2 separate regions of the Homo sapiens genome follow, and region 1 is linked to region 2. Evidence: promoter capture Hi-C in 16 types of primary human blood cells and fetal thymus (Javierre and others, 2016). All regions are on one chromosome and are shown on one strand. Each heading gives the region's core, a stretch centred on a gene start or on the middle of the fragment in contact. The rest is flanking DNA. Distances are from core to core; before and after follow the strand shown.

What was found. The method cuts DNA at HindIII sites, captures the fragments that hold promoters and counts their contacts. A CHiCAGO score of 5 or more calls a contact.
Region 1: a fragment that was not itself captured here is called in contact with the fragment with the promoter of RD3 in region 2 in 6 of 17 cell types (naive CD4 T cells, M2 macrophages, M1 macrophages and 3 more); the score reaches 7.4 in naive CD4 T cells.

The regions. Positions count from the first base shown.
Region 1 is chr1:211,312,530-211,319,387 of GRCh38, reverse strand. It overlaps RCOR3 (REST corepressor 3), which reads right to left. Exons shown (of 12, transcript NM_001136223.3): 11 at 6,427-6,668; 12 at 3,003-5,964. The coding sequence ends at 5,620. Among named protein-coding and RNA genes, the nearest start is that of TRAF5, 11 kb to the left of the region's middle. The HindIII fragment of the contact is 3,259 bases long and covers 1-3,054 here.
Region 2 is chr1:211,486,932-211,494,202 of GRCh38, reverse strand. RD3 (RD3 regulator of GUCY2D) reads left to right here and starts at 2,041. Exons shown (of 3, transcript NM_001164688.2): 1 at 2,041-2,435. The HindIII fragment of the contact is 10,925 bases long and covers 1-4,467 here.

The sequences.
Region 1 (6,858 bases), core at 176-2,675, 170 kb after region 2:
ATTCCTAGTTTTCTAAGTTTTAATCATGAATAGGTGTTGGATTTTGTCAAATATCTTTTCTGTGTCTATCAACATAATCATATGGCTTTTTTCCTTTATTTTATTAATATGATATATTGCAATGATTCTCAACTGGAGGTGATTTTGCTCCTTATGGGACATTTGACCATGTCTGGAGACATTTTTGATTCTCAAACTGGGGAAGGGGGTTCTACTGGTATCTGGTGGGTAGAGGCTGAGGATGCTGTTCAACATTCTAAATGCACAAAAAAGAATTATCTAACCTAAAATGTCAGTAGTGCTGATATTGAGCAATATTTCATGTGCACATGGAAACAATGTTTATTCTGCTGTTGGGTAGAATGATCCCACATTTCAACTAGGTAAAGGTGTGTTATTCAAGTCATAGGCTGCAATCAAGCTGTTAGCTGGGTTCTGGTCATCTCAAGACCCAACTGGGGAAGGATCCATTTTCAAGTGCACATGGATGTTGGCAGGATTCAGTTCCTGGCAGGTTGTTGAACTGAAGGCCTGAGTTCTTTGCTGGCTGTTAGCAAAAGGCTGGCTTCAGCTCTTTGTCACATTAGAGGTTCCTTAATTCTGCTGGCTTTTGTCATAAATGTATCCCCATCTGCTGGTAGCTCCTCCTCTGGCTTCCTAGCACTGCTAAGGGTTATTTTGGTTTTTCTATTTCTTGTCATTTCAGTAAGACTGGCAGGGGGAGATTATGGGTAAGAAAAGTAAAAGACTATGTCCAGTCTGTCATCTTGAACTGAAATTAATCTCTCATTTTTGCACTGCACTTTAATTTTTTTAAAAAAATGAGCTGAGATTGCGCCATTGCACTCCAGCCTGGGTGACAGAACGAGACTCTGTCCAAAAAAAAAAAAAAAAGTCACAATACATTTCCCTTATTAAGAAGGGTATGGTATAAGTAGACATGTAAAAACCTCTAACATACATTGGGCAGGTACTATATGCCCCAGTTTATATATTCCTCCCCAAATGAGGAAAATGAGGCTCACAGAGATTAAGTAACTTGCTTAGTGGAGTTGGAAAACTCATTGTGTTAAAGGTTGGTGGGCAATTATTTTGCAAATATAGGCCACAAGCCCTCAATGATTCTGATTATTTTCAAACTCTTTTGGAAAAGATGAAGAGGCAGGATATCAACAAAATGGTCTTTGGATTAAAGGCCTCTTCAAGCCAAATCCTGTCAAATAAGAAAGCTGTTCCAGGTAGTAAACTAGACAGATCCCTCAAGAGATACCTTGTGTTGTGGTATTATTCAGCATCTTCTTAGTTATTGGTAACTGTACCTTACAAATAAGATTAAATTGTACAGAATAAAAATTTCACCTTTCTTAAAATAGTCCAAGGGAAGGAAACATATGAAGCATTCTGTGACATCAACTTTGACCTCATTTACATTGTGAAGACTGTTCTTAGATCTCTCCACTTCACATCACCAGCATTTTTTCCTTAGAGACCCTGCTCACCCAGATTCCTGCTTTAGGATTCTAAAGTTTAGATTACTGCATTGTAAAGACTGTTCCGTTTATTAATAAACAATTGTCTACTTTAAACCAAGTAATGACAATTGGCAAACATCTCAACCCAATATTAACTTCTGATCTTCACTGTTTCTCCCTTAGCTATATAGACTTAGGAGAGCAAAAAAGGGCAGATAAAGCCACATGGCCCTTTAGACACAAACTCACACATCTAGGAGCATTCCTTGTCATGTTTAATTCTCAAACTCCATTGTCACTAATATACTGCTGCAGAACATTCCTTCCCTAAGGCAGTTATGATAAAGAAGTTGTGGGGAGTTACACATGACCTACTCTTTCCTAGGTGAAAACAGTTCAGGTACTACCATAAATCAGATGTCAAAAGTTTCTTGTAGGCATTTTCTAATATGGAATGGTTTCTCAAACTTGATTCTTGGGTTCTTTCCGTATTCATTTATTCTGTTATTTTCTTATAAACGATGTAATCTATAATGAATGGCTAAATTTAAAAACACTTTTTTTCTTGTGTGTCCTCTAATAAGAATGTATTTGTCATTTATTTTGGGCATGCACAAAGAGAAAGATAGATTCTTCTTAGAGTTCGAAGTCAGATTACTATTCTTTTTGAGGAGATCCTGACACCCCAGTGTTAACTAGTTAGCAGTTATTAATGTTCATAAATAACCTTTTGATAACAGGAGGGAACATAAAATTAATACAACATACTTAATAACTAAACTAGGTACTTTAACCCAAGTACAGTCATGCACCACACAATATTTCGGTCAGTGACTGCAAATACACTGATGTTCTTTAAAATTATAACATCAGCAGGAAGCAGTGGCTCATACCTGTAATCCCAGCACTTTGGGAGGCCAAGACAGGTGGATCACCTGAGACCAGGACTTCAAGATCAGCCCGACCAACACGGTGGAACCCCATCTCTACTAAAAAATACAAAACTTAGCCAGGTGTGGTGGCGGGCGCCTGTAATCCCAGACACTCAGGAGGCTGAGACAGGAGAACTGCTTGAGCCTGGGAGGCAAAGGTTGCTGAGCCAAGATCCCGCCACTGCACTCCAGCCTGTGCGACAGAGTGAGAACCTGTCTCAAAAAATAAATATATAAAATATTGTATTTTTACTATACCTTTTCTATGTTTAGATACACAGATATTACCACTGTGTTATAACTGCCTATGATATTCAGTACAGTATATTACTGTACAGCATAGGACTGTTGCCTAGGAGCAAAGGCTATACCATATAGCCTAGGTGTGTAGTAGACTTTGCCACCAATGTTGGTACAAGTACAATCTGATTCACAGCACAAAAGAATCACCTAACAGCACCTTTCTCAGACCATATCCCCGTTGTTAAGGGCATGACTGTACTTGCAATTTTTAATATTCTTAAAAATGATAGTCACGTTCTTGGCTTGCTCTCTACATCTATTCCTAAAAAGAATGTAGGCCTACATTAAGACAAAATTTTATATTATTTCACCTTTATTTTATATTCTATTTTACTCAATTGCAAGCTTATTAAGAACATAAAAAGTTTGATCATAACTTACTCTTACCTCATCCATATTACACTAGAATTAAATCATATAGAAAAACATTGTTTCCATTAGTTTTATAAGATGTATCCACAGTGTGGTTTATTTTTAGTTATGTAATTTTAAAAAACCACTTTGGTGTAGATTTCTCAAAAATGATAACCCTGAAATTAATGAAAATTGTCATTAAAAGATTTCTAGTTTTGCTTTTATAAAAATCATTATTTCGAATTTCACAGTGAAGAGGTACTAAATTCCTCATAGAACATGAAATTATATAAAAATAGAAGACATAGACATCTTTAAATCTTTAATCCTTTGATTAAGCAGCAAGCATATCACTCTTCCAGGCCAAACACTGCTTAAACAAAAAAGAAAAATAATGACGTGCAAAATATTTACAAAATATGCAAAGCACACAATAAAGACATCTCACTATATACATGTGTCATATTACTAATGAAGCTAAAGTTTTTCTACTGTGTGCTCTAATGCATGTAAATCAAATTACAGCACATCCCTCAGATACAGCACCTTGGCCCATGTCTGGGATAGAAGAGATTTTTTAATGAATCACAATATACTGAACAGCTGGACAGATGCTGGTGCTGACCAACTTGACTGACATATCCCACATACTGTGTACTGAAGGTCTACTGACAAGAGACAAGACAATAAACGCTGTAAAGGTATAGTATGCACATACGTAAGACAATCTAAGTGCTTTAAAAAATGTTTTAGATATTTTAAGATATTTAACTGTCCCCTGTGGCTTTTAAGGAAAAAATAAGTATAAATTCTTGAATATTAAGAATTTTAAATCAGCTAAATTCAGGGCCAAGAACTATTTAAGATGATTCAATGAGAAAGAAAAGGACCTAACCTGGAAAAAGAGTTTCAAATATGCCAGTACGTAGGGTATTTATGGAAATACACAGTCTAAAATTAAAAATTAAAACTAATCAATGAATTTAAATCTATAGCACTTTAAGGCTGTGGAGCCAACAATAGGGAATACTTTGGGAACACATGATCTTTCAAAACATAAATTAGGGCCTTAGATGTTGACTATTTTGTGAAGTATTCTACACGTGATAAGAATGTGAATGTGCAAACATGTAGCCTATGTCCACTAGTATAGCAATCTAAGTGATCTGTCTGTCCCTTTGCACAAATAATGATTCCAATATGAAATCACTGTATCAAAAATATTAATTACACATTGTTGAAATACTATCACTTGTAAAATATTCTTTGTTAAGTACTTAATGATTATGGGTTGAATTAAGAAGACTTGATGTCTTTTTGTTTTTCTATAAAAAGGGGTCTCAGCATTTTTAGTTAACAGCACAACTGTGACAATATACTGATACATCTTTAGATAACACAGAACAAATTCTTATTTTATGAAATAATGTTGATGATTTAACCCTACACCAATCCCACGAATACAGGTTGGCTGCAAGGAATACACAAATGTATCCAAATAGTACAATAGATTTATCAATAAAACACCTTTCATATTAAATGCAGACCATATTATTAAGTATGAGGGCAATTTTAAGTTCAGAAACCAAACATGTAAAGGGTACTGTAAAGAAATGCTTCCATAACCACTGTGTCTACTTAACTAACAAAATATAATTCTTCTCTGAAGTCCCCAGATGTAGGCAACTACTAGTTAAAAGCAGATAGCATTTAGAAACAAAAAAAACCAACTCCATTTTCAAGGAACTTAAAGAGATTATATTTCAACAAATTAAGTCCTCATTTGTATGCAAAATTATTCTTCCAATCCTCTCATTACTGACAGATGATGAGTCAATGACCTTTAAACAAGGACTCTGCGCTAGGACCCTAAACTGTATGTTAAAGGGTTAGTAGGTTCAGTACATTCTTTGTGGTTTTATATAATTGCTTTGCAATTGATTAAATTGCTTTCTTTTAAAGGAATATATTAAAATTCCTTTAAAAAAAAAAGCAACATTTTTTGAAAGAAGGGATATGCAGCTATAATTTCTTAAATATGCATAAAATGAACATATGTCAAAATCGGAAATGCTGGCTATTCTTGCACTCCTAACATAGGAAAATGGTTTTTAAAAAATTAAAGAAAAAAGCCAAACATCCTTAACTTAAGAAACTTAAGGAGTTTTCACAATTCCTAAGTCAATATTCCTGTACTAAGAGCCTTGACTATGAAGAGGCAGGAATATAAAGAACCTCAATAAAATAAATACAGTAAAAACAAAACAAAAACTTGGTATATAGAATACTTAAATCTTTTGTTTTTCCTTTTATGAGATCAACATTGCTGAACATATACTCTAGAAAGGAGGCTAACTGGAGGCTTTTTGTTGTAAAACATTTTAGTCTAGTGAACTGAAAAATTTCTTAGACATCCACTTATGCTAGTCCACTGCCACAGAACTAGTTCGCAGCCTCAGTATCTAGAAATGATTATTCTTTCCTCTTTTTCATCAGTCAGATGAGCACTGGTATAATGATGGGGTGAAAAGTTACTGCAGCTGTGTCCAATTTAATTTTTAGTGCAGTGAGGACTGTGAATCTGTCTGAATTCCAATAAGTGATGGTGGCTGTTGACCACCAACCGTGGACAACACCGGTCTTGGGTTTAGACGGGGTGGCATGGAATTAGCAGGGCGAATAAGAGGTGGTGGAGGCTGATTTAAAGTTGGCCGGGGCTGGATGAACCGAGCCTGCTGCTGGAGTGGAGGAGGCTGCCGGTGAAGAGCCGGGGCAGCAGGCAGTGTTGGACGAAGAAGTGGTGGAGGCTGGTTCAGAGTGGCAATAGGGGCTGTTGGTGTTGGAGTGGATGATGGGGCAGGAGGTGATGGACCCAGTGTCCGAGGAGCCTGTGGGGTCTGTGCCTAGAGGTGAGGAAACAAAAATACACGTATGAGATGTAAGTCCTAATGAACTTAATACAATATAGTTTGGGCTGTCACAGGAAAAACAAAACAAATCAAAACAAAACAAAAACATAACACCAGTGTTTATTGGAAGCACAAGCTTCTTTTATTTTAAACAAAACAAAACCAAAAACCAAAAACCAATGAGGCTACCAAACAGGCATCTTTATTTGTAAACAGCTTAACACTGAAAATAAAAATAAGACTATGAAAGAACAATACACTCTCCATTCTTCTAGAATCAGAACTTAGCATGTCATTATGACTTAAGAGTCACGAGAGATGCACCACTGAAGAAGTGTATTGTCAACCTTTCATGCTCAATTTAGCTAGTCCTCTTGACAAATTAACCTTACAGAATACCACACAAAATGGTGATTCCTCAACTCATATTAGCTCAAATTCCATACACAAACACACCTCCTCTTCTTCATCAGTGCTCTTCCCTGATGGCACATTAGAAGCACTTTTTGTCTCCTCCCCTAAAGTAGAAGCATCACCATTAGAAGCCTGGGTTCCTTGTTCTGCTTCCCACTCCTGCAATACCTCCTCTAAGTTAAACCGACGCCTGTAGTTTACAAAGAAGTTCTTCACTTGGCCAACAGTCTTGTTGCCAATTACATCTGCAATAGCTTGAAAATCTTTACCATATTTGCGGACACCTGGAAGGCAAAGTAAATAATACACCTGTGAAGGATCAATAAGGAGAGCTGTGTGTACTATACATCATGCACACACAAAAGATACCAGCAATGAAATTCCTTTCTGATAAACTCTGCTCATTTCTCAATTCTGAGATAGAGGCTAAGATATCAGGGTCACAGATGAAAACTATCAGTTATGTCATTTCAT
Region 2 (7,271 bases), core at 792-3,291:
GGTGAACAAATCAGAATAAATGAGGAGTCAACACACCCACCAAGGCCTGTGAGTTACGGTATCAAGGCAGCTGTCAGGGAGGGTCGTGGGTTAGGGAGTGCCTCCCTCTTCTAATCACAGGCACCATTTGAAAAATGCAGGAGAGGGGCCAGCTGCGTCTGCCAGGGAGACTGCTATAAGTCGTCTGTGTGCTTGTTCCCTGGCATCCCAGGGTCAGGAGTCCTGAAGCTCATCTGGCAGCTGCTGCGACAAAATCTTTCTGATGGCTCAAGACATTGGCCTCTATGATCTCATTTACATTCATTGTGTGTGCATTAGAAGGGGAGATATTAATACAAAAGCATGGCTATAGAAAAGGGATGAATTGTTTTTATTCAAACACAGAATGGTCAGTAGCAGACCCAAGGTTGTACTACTTGGAGATAAAAGTCTTTAACTCTGGGCCCTAATGCTGTCCCTGCTCCCCACCTGCCTGCCAGACTTCCACCTCCTCCTCATCTGATCCAGCAATCCAGCACACACAGGCTTGGCTGGGATGTGTGCAGAGAGGAGAGCCAGGCTCAGCCAGCTCCTAGCTTGGTGCCCCTGTAGAATGGTGCTTTAGAAATACGTGCTGCACAGATGAGCATGTGACTTAGTCCATGCCCTCCTCTCCTCATTGCCTCCAGCAACTTTCCTAAAGGGAAGGTAAAGTCTTGTCATCCCCCTGCTCCCTTCCCTACAGTGTGGAAATGCCTGGGAATTTCTGCCCTTGGACCTCCAAGCCACGCCCCTTGGGAAAGTGCCAGGATAGTGGTGGGGTGCTCAGAGGTGGGGACTCCCAGTTACCTGCTTTGGGTGACTCTGGCCTTAGCTGGCCCTGAGGTGGAGGCCGCCTGGGAACTGTGGGTCAGAGGAAGTCAGCTTCAGCTCCCTCAAATGTGGGGATCTTCCATCCCCAAGTGACCCACTCAATCTTTGGGGCTGTCGTGCTGTGAACTGGTCAAGAGAAGTATATGATCCAACTCCTGACTCAAGAATCTTGCCTGCTTGATGGATGAAGAGGGAAGGCGGATGGAACCAGCTGAGTGGAACCAGCCACAGAGCAAGCACGAAGTGACAAATCACCCAGGGACGAAATCATGCAGGCAGGCAGGTGGGCAACCTGAGTCCATTTCATCAGCCATTGTTTAATTTATTCTTGGTTGTACTTTCTGCTTTATTTCCAACACAATCAAAACCAGATGTGTGCAAAAGTCACGCTATCACCCAGCACAGGATTACCTAAGATCTATTATAATGCAGCTTCATGCCCATTACAGTATTCCCATGCCCCTCACAGGGCAGTGTGCATCTGTTTTAGTGCTACCTAATGTCTGTTAGGTGCAAGCTGGCCCACACATGGCTTCTAGGCAGAACAGTCTACAAGTGACAGCGTGACCAGAGAGCAGAGACAGGAAGGAGGCCCAGACATGAGTGTGGGATGCTGCAGAACAGCAACAGGATGCTTCTGCTATCCCCAAATGTTATCTCAAATACCTCAACGTCAATGCTTTCTGTTCCATGTTCCTCTTCTCCCTGGACAGCCCCTCCTTCTGAAAGTCAGAACTGTCTGCTCTTGAGCTTGCCTTGAGGGAAGGAAATAATTTAGATAAGCAGAGAGGAAGACAGGCAAGGGATGTGGTGGGGCAAAGGCGGAGATGTATCTTCACAGGTCCCTGTCCTCAGCACCCAGAATCACCCCTTCCCTGTAGGAGGGAGCTGATAGAAAGAGGGGATCTCCATCCAGGAGCCACCCACCAGGCAGCTGGAAACATTTGCCAACAGCAGGTACACCTAGGGCTCAGCAGAGGGTTGGGTGAGAATGGTCTTGCCCAGTTTGTGCCACACTGAGCACCGGCTGGAGGAGGAAGCGGACAGAATGCCATCTGGACACAAGTGCTCCCTCACTGCCTGGGCCTGGGTCGCCTCAGGCTTTTGTGTCAGATCAGCCACTCCCTCTACAGATAATGCTGCTCCAGGCAAAGAGGCTTAGGTGGGTCTCCAGGGCAACCGCAGCTCAGGAGCTGGCCCGCCTCCATGGTTCATCAGGGAAGCTGTGGCTCCAGCCTCGCGGGATACATACACGCATACACACACACACACACACACACACACACACACACACACACACACCTACACACCCCACAAACAATAGTCCAGGCTGGATCTCTCCTCCTGTCTCTTCTCTTGGTAAAACTTCTCAGAGAACCAAAGAGAGGCAAAATTTGAGGCCAGCCGGCAGCAGCAGAGAAGCTGAGGGAGACTTGAGGATGTAGACTGCCCTGCCCTGCTGTGGCTGCTCAACTTTCTTTTTTTTTCCTGAAAATATCCAGACACTCTCTTCTCCCAGACTGGGAAGCAGAACGCAGGCCCCCTGCTGTGACGCTGCACCTGAGCAGAGGCTGACCTCAGAGGTAAGATGGAGGTCTCCCCAGGAGACAGTGTCTTCCCCACCCGCACCCTGGCACAGCTGCACCTTTGGAAGTTAGGGCTGAGGCTTGAAGCTGGGTGGGGTGGCCTCAAGGGGTGTGGCAGGCTGGGGAGCCTAGAAAGCCGCCCACCTCCGGGACCCAGATGGCCACAGGAAGGCCCCTTTAGTCCTCATCAGTTCCACAGGAGTTGGAACCGATGAGGGTCCTGCAGCTTCCTCGGGGCTATAGCCTGCTCCTTGTTTTGTAAACCTGTGGGAAGCCATTGTTTTTGCCTGTTCTGGAACTGCAAGCCTCTCGGGGAGGACCCAGCTCCAGCAGGTTCCTTTCTGCCTTTATAGAGTGGACACAGGCAGGGGGAAGGAAAGCGAAACCCAAATCAGAGACTCTTGCATGGGTTTGCGAACTGTGATTCGAGCATCTACTAAGTCCAAGGCACAGAGTCAGGCTCTGGGGATGCAGCAGCACCCAGGGCACGAGGGTGATGGATGTGCCTCAGTCCCCTCGAACATGGAGCAGTCTGTGCATCCCTGATAACATGCCCAGGAGAGTGGGCCCAGGCAGATGGGTGCAGGGTGGGGCGCCAGGGAGATCGGGCCTAGAAGGAAAGTCCAGCTGCGACCAAGGGATGAGGGTCAGTCCCCTCCCACTGTGGTCAGTCAGACCTGTGTACACGCCCTCTCCTGGCTGCACCTCTGCCTCAGAATGGGAAGGACTGGCTGCCATTCACTCATTCATTCAGGAACCGCTTATCAAGTGCTACCATGTGCAGCAGATTCAACCCACATTCCTCTCGCCCTTGCAGAATTCATAGCTAGGTGGGGAAGAGATAAATACAACCCAAAGCGTGAGAAACGTGTTTGCTAGATGCCATGGTGATGGGCCCTTGTGTCAGGCCCTGGTGGCTGGGATCAGTGCTCCATGGGTGGGGGGAAGTGAGGGGCCGGCTGCAGGGAGGAGTTGTCTCTTGAGGGGTTCCCGACAAATGAGCAGATGTCTGTCAGGTGGGCAGAGGATCCACAGGTCAGGCCCGCTCATATCTGGCTTGGTGGATTATAGGTTGTTTTTCTGTGATGCCAAAGAGAAATAAGGTCAATTTGCAATCTGTAAAGTTGGACTTGGGCCTTATCAAACACAGAGCTGGGAGGCAGATTAGCCAGAGAAGCACCTACTCTCTGCCCCCACTGAGAAGTCTCTGCCCAGACTGAGCGTCTGGCGTCAGCAGAGCCAGCCTGCCCCTGCAGTGAAGCTGCCAGTGCTCTGGGACAGCCTGACTCAGGTGCTGCTCTATGCCTGGGTCCGGCGGGTCACACAGGGCAGCCCCTCACCCTGGCCTGCAGATGCCTAGCTCAGCTTCAGAGGTGGAGGACCCGGGCCGGGTTCCCTGGCCATGGCTCCCTTTGCACTGAGAAATTGGCCTTCCTGGGCAAGGTCTGCACGCCCTCACTGTTTGGCTGGGGCCGGCGCAGGGCCTCAGTTCTCACTAGAGGTGAGGGCACTCTCATCCCTCCTGCAGGGGGTCAGAGCCCTGCTTCCAGCTCCAAGGTCACACTCCCCATTGTTCCCACCATTGAGACATCCCTGGTCCCCCTCTGAGTGCCAAGTGGAACCAGAGACTCCTCTTGCCCTTGAGGCACAACGCGAGAGTTTTTCCAGCACAGCTAACGAGCCACAGCTGGTAGTGGCGCCTCCCAGGAGCCACAGAAAAGACATTATCCTCAGGGATGTTCAAAAATAGGCTGAAAGGAAGGCTCTGAGAGTGTGGGGGTGGAAGGGGTAATGAAGGAGAAAGGAAAGAGGAAAGAGAAGATCAGAGAATGGAAGATAACGGGCGTGGGTGAGTGACACCAAAAGGCAGAGACAGAACGTGCGAGGGCTTCCCCATCATCCACTCTGCTCTGTAAACCTGAGGCCTCACCACCTGGGCCTTCTCTTGAAACAGGGAGGCTCAGCTCTCCCAACACGGTGACCAGAAGCCAGGGCTGGGGAAGGCCAGGAACAAAGTTGGGGTCAAGCTTGCACCAAGCCAGGGGATCCTTTATTTTTGTGCCCCCTTTGGGAGTCTGTGAAGCCTGTGGACACGTTCCTAGAAAAATGCTTCTAAATGCATAAAAGTAAATTCACTGGGGTACAAAGGAAACAAGCTCTATTGAAATGCAGCTATCAAAAAAAAAAAAAAGAAAGAAAAAATGATTTATGATATAATAATATGTGTGCTTCCCTATCAACATGTGAAATAATAAAACCTAGTAGCAAGTCTAATAAATGCCACAATTTCATAGTAGTGATGAGCATACCAGATAATTCAAGAATAACAACTTTAAAGCATTTTGTGAAAAATCTGTGGTTTCTGCTGGAGATAAAGCCATGGGGCTACTGATATTACTGTGGTCTATGACCCTCATTCATAACTAAAGAAATACCACATTTCAGTTAAAGGTTAGTGGAAATAAAGATGACTTTTTTCCCCACCCAAGTTCATAAATCCCTGAATTTTCCCTAGGACCCAAGGGTAAGAATCTGTACTAAGCGACAATGGTAGCCACTGATCTAGGTGAATCAGCTTATTGTTAGTTTATAAAAATAAAACATTTACAAAGACATAATCTCATTTGATTTTCACAGTAACTTGAAATAGGTACCTTTATTATTCCCTTATAGATTGGGGAAACTGAGGCTTGGGGCCATGAAGGTGACTTGGACAAAGGCAGCATACACGGGAGGGGAAGGGCGTAGGAACTGAATTCAGGTTTTATCTGCTGAAGGCTGCACTGTCTCCCCAAGCCCAGCCTGCTCCACCTGAGCTGGTGATCAAGTAGAGGCGGAGTGGGGGTGCAGCCAGGCCACCCAGCATGCATCTGAGGTCAAAAGCAGTGGAGGTGGTGAGTGGGGGTGAGAGTGGGGATGGTACTGGACCCCAGGCCCCAGACTCCACGGAGGGAATATGGGGAGAGGGAACGGAAGGCATGTATGTGTCAATGGACAGCAGCAACTCTGTCCCCACCCCGGCTCCCAGACAAAAGAGGGAAACGCAGCCCAAAGATTCTTACTAAGGACCCCAAGATGGATAGGGGTCTTAACAAGCAGGGCCCAGCCCATGTTCCTAGCTGGCTTTCATTTCTTTTCTTCTTGTTTTGTGTCATCATTGCATTTGGTCATCTGTCTCCTCTCTATAGAGCCTTCAAGACCTCTTTCCAGGTGGGTTTTTTTTTTTTTTTTTGACAGAGTCTTGTTCTGTCGCCTAGGCTGGAGTGCAGTGGCACCATCTTGGCTCACTGCAGCCTCCACCTCCCGGGTTCAAGCAATTCTCATGCCTCAGCCTCCTGAGTAGCTGGGATTACAGGCATCTGCAACCACACCTGGCTAATTTTTGTATTTTTAGTAGAGATGGGGTTTCACCATATTGGCCAGGCTGGTCTCAAATTCCTGGCCTCAAGTGATCTGCCTGCCTTGGCCTCCCAAAGTGCTGGGATTATAGTCGTGAGCCACCGCTCCCGGCCTCCAGGTGAACTTTTTAGCCACCTGATTGTGTCTCATAAGAATTACAACCCCTGATCACTGCACAGGATTTGTATAGTTTACTGAATGTTTTCACATATTGTCTCCTGCCCGAGTCTCAGAGAAGCCCTGTGGAGTGGGCTGAGCTGGTGTCTGAACACCATTTTATAAATGCAGAAACCAAGGCCTCGCTGGTTAATGAGCAGTAGCGGTTATGCAGAGAACAGGGGCAGGCACTTCCTGGGCACACCCTGCACTGCTTACACAGCCGAGGCCCAGGAGTCCCTTTCCACTCAGGAGAGCTGTGCCTTTGGTGGCATCGCAATTGCTTGTCTGCTTGTTTTCCCCCCTCTCTTGAGTGTACACTCCTTGAGGGAGTCCCAGCACCTAGCACAGCGACAGGCAGGTCACACACTCCTCCTGTGTCTGCTGAGCGAGTGAGTGGATGAGAACTCAGCCCTGCGCCTCAGTCTCCAGGCCCTAGGCCCTCCCCGCACACGCCACTGTGCAAGGCCTCGATGCCCAGGCTCGTGGGTGAAGAAAGACACAGCAGCAGAAATGAGCAGAATAGGGACTGCAGGCAGGGGTCCCGAGGAACAACGCAGGCCATCAGGTAGAGTGAATCAGGAAGGCTTCCTGCACAAGTGAGTTTTGAGGTAGAGCTTTCCCAACTTTTAAACTTGAATATGCATAAACATGCAGAAAAGTGTGATAAATATCTATCAATATCCCCCAGATACAACAATTGCTAATATTTTGCCATATTTGCTCTTGTAGGGGCCAAGGGCTTGGCCCTATGAAGGTTCACTTAAAAATCAACTCAAGAAAGGCTGATTAATTAGAGAAAAGGCGTACACATTTATCACAAACGCGTACATGGGGAGAATCACAGAGGAACTGCTCACCCCACACTGTGGTTCGGAAGCTTATATATCATCCTGGCAAAGCAGGTTATGGGAGGGGGAGAACAGCAGTTCTGGTGAGAGGATTACTAGGGAGAATGAACGGGGCAGGGATCAGAAATGAACTTGTACATTATCCTGGGAGAGGGTCTGTTCAGGTGGGGGCTCATTCTCGGTCTTAAGAAAGGGGAAGAAAAAAACCATTGTTCCCTTTGGTGGATCTGGATCTTAGGCAGACAAAGGCTTTGGAAGAGACGGTGGCCGTGGGGAGGGCCAGAGAGACCACGAGGCTTCTTCAGCTCAGCATGTCCAAATGCCATATCTTAGGATATTGGTTTCTGAGCCCCAACATCCTGTTTATGGGGTGTGTGTATACATATTTATGTAATGTTTTCTGAACTATTTGAATGTAAGATATTGT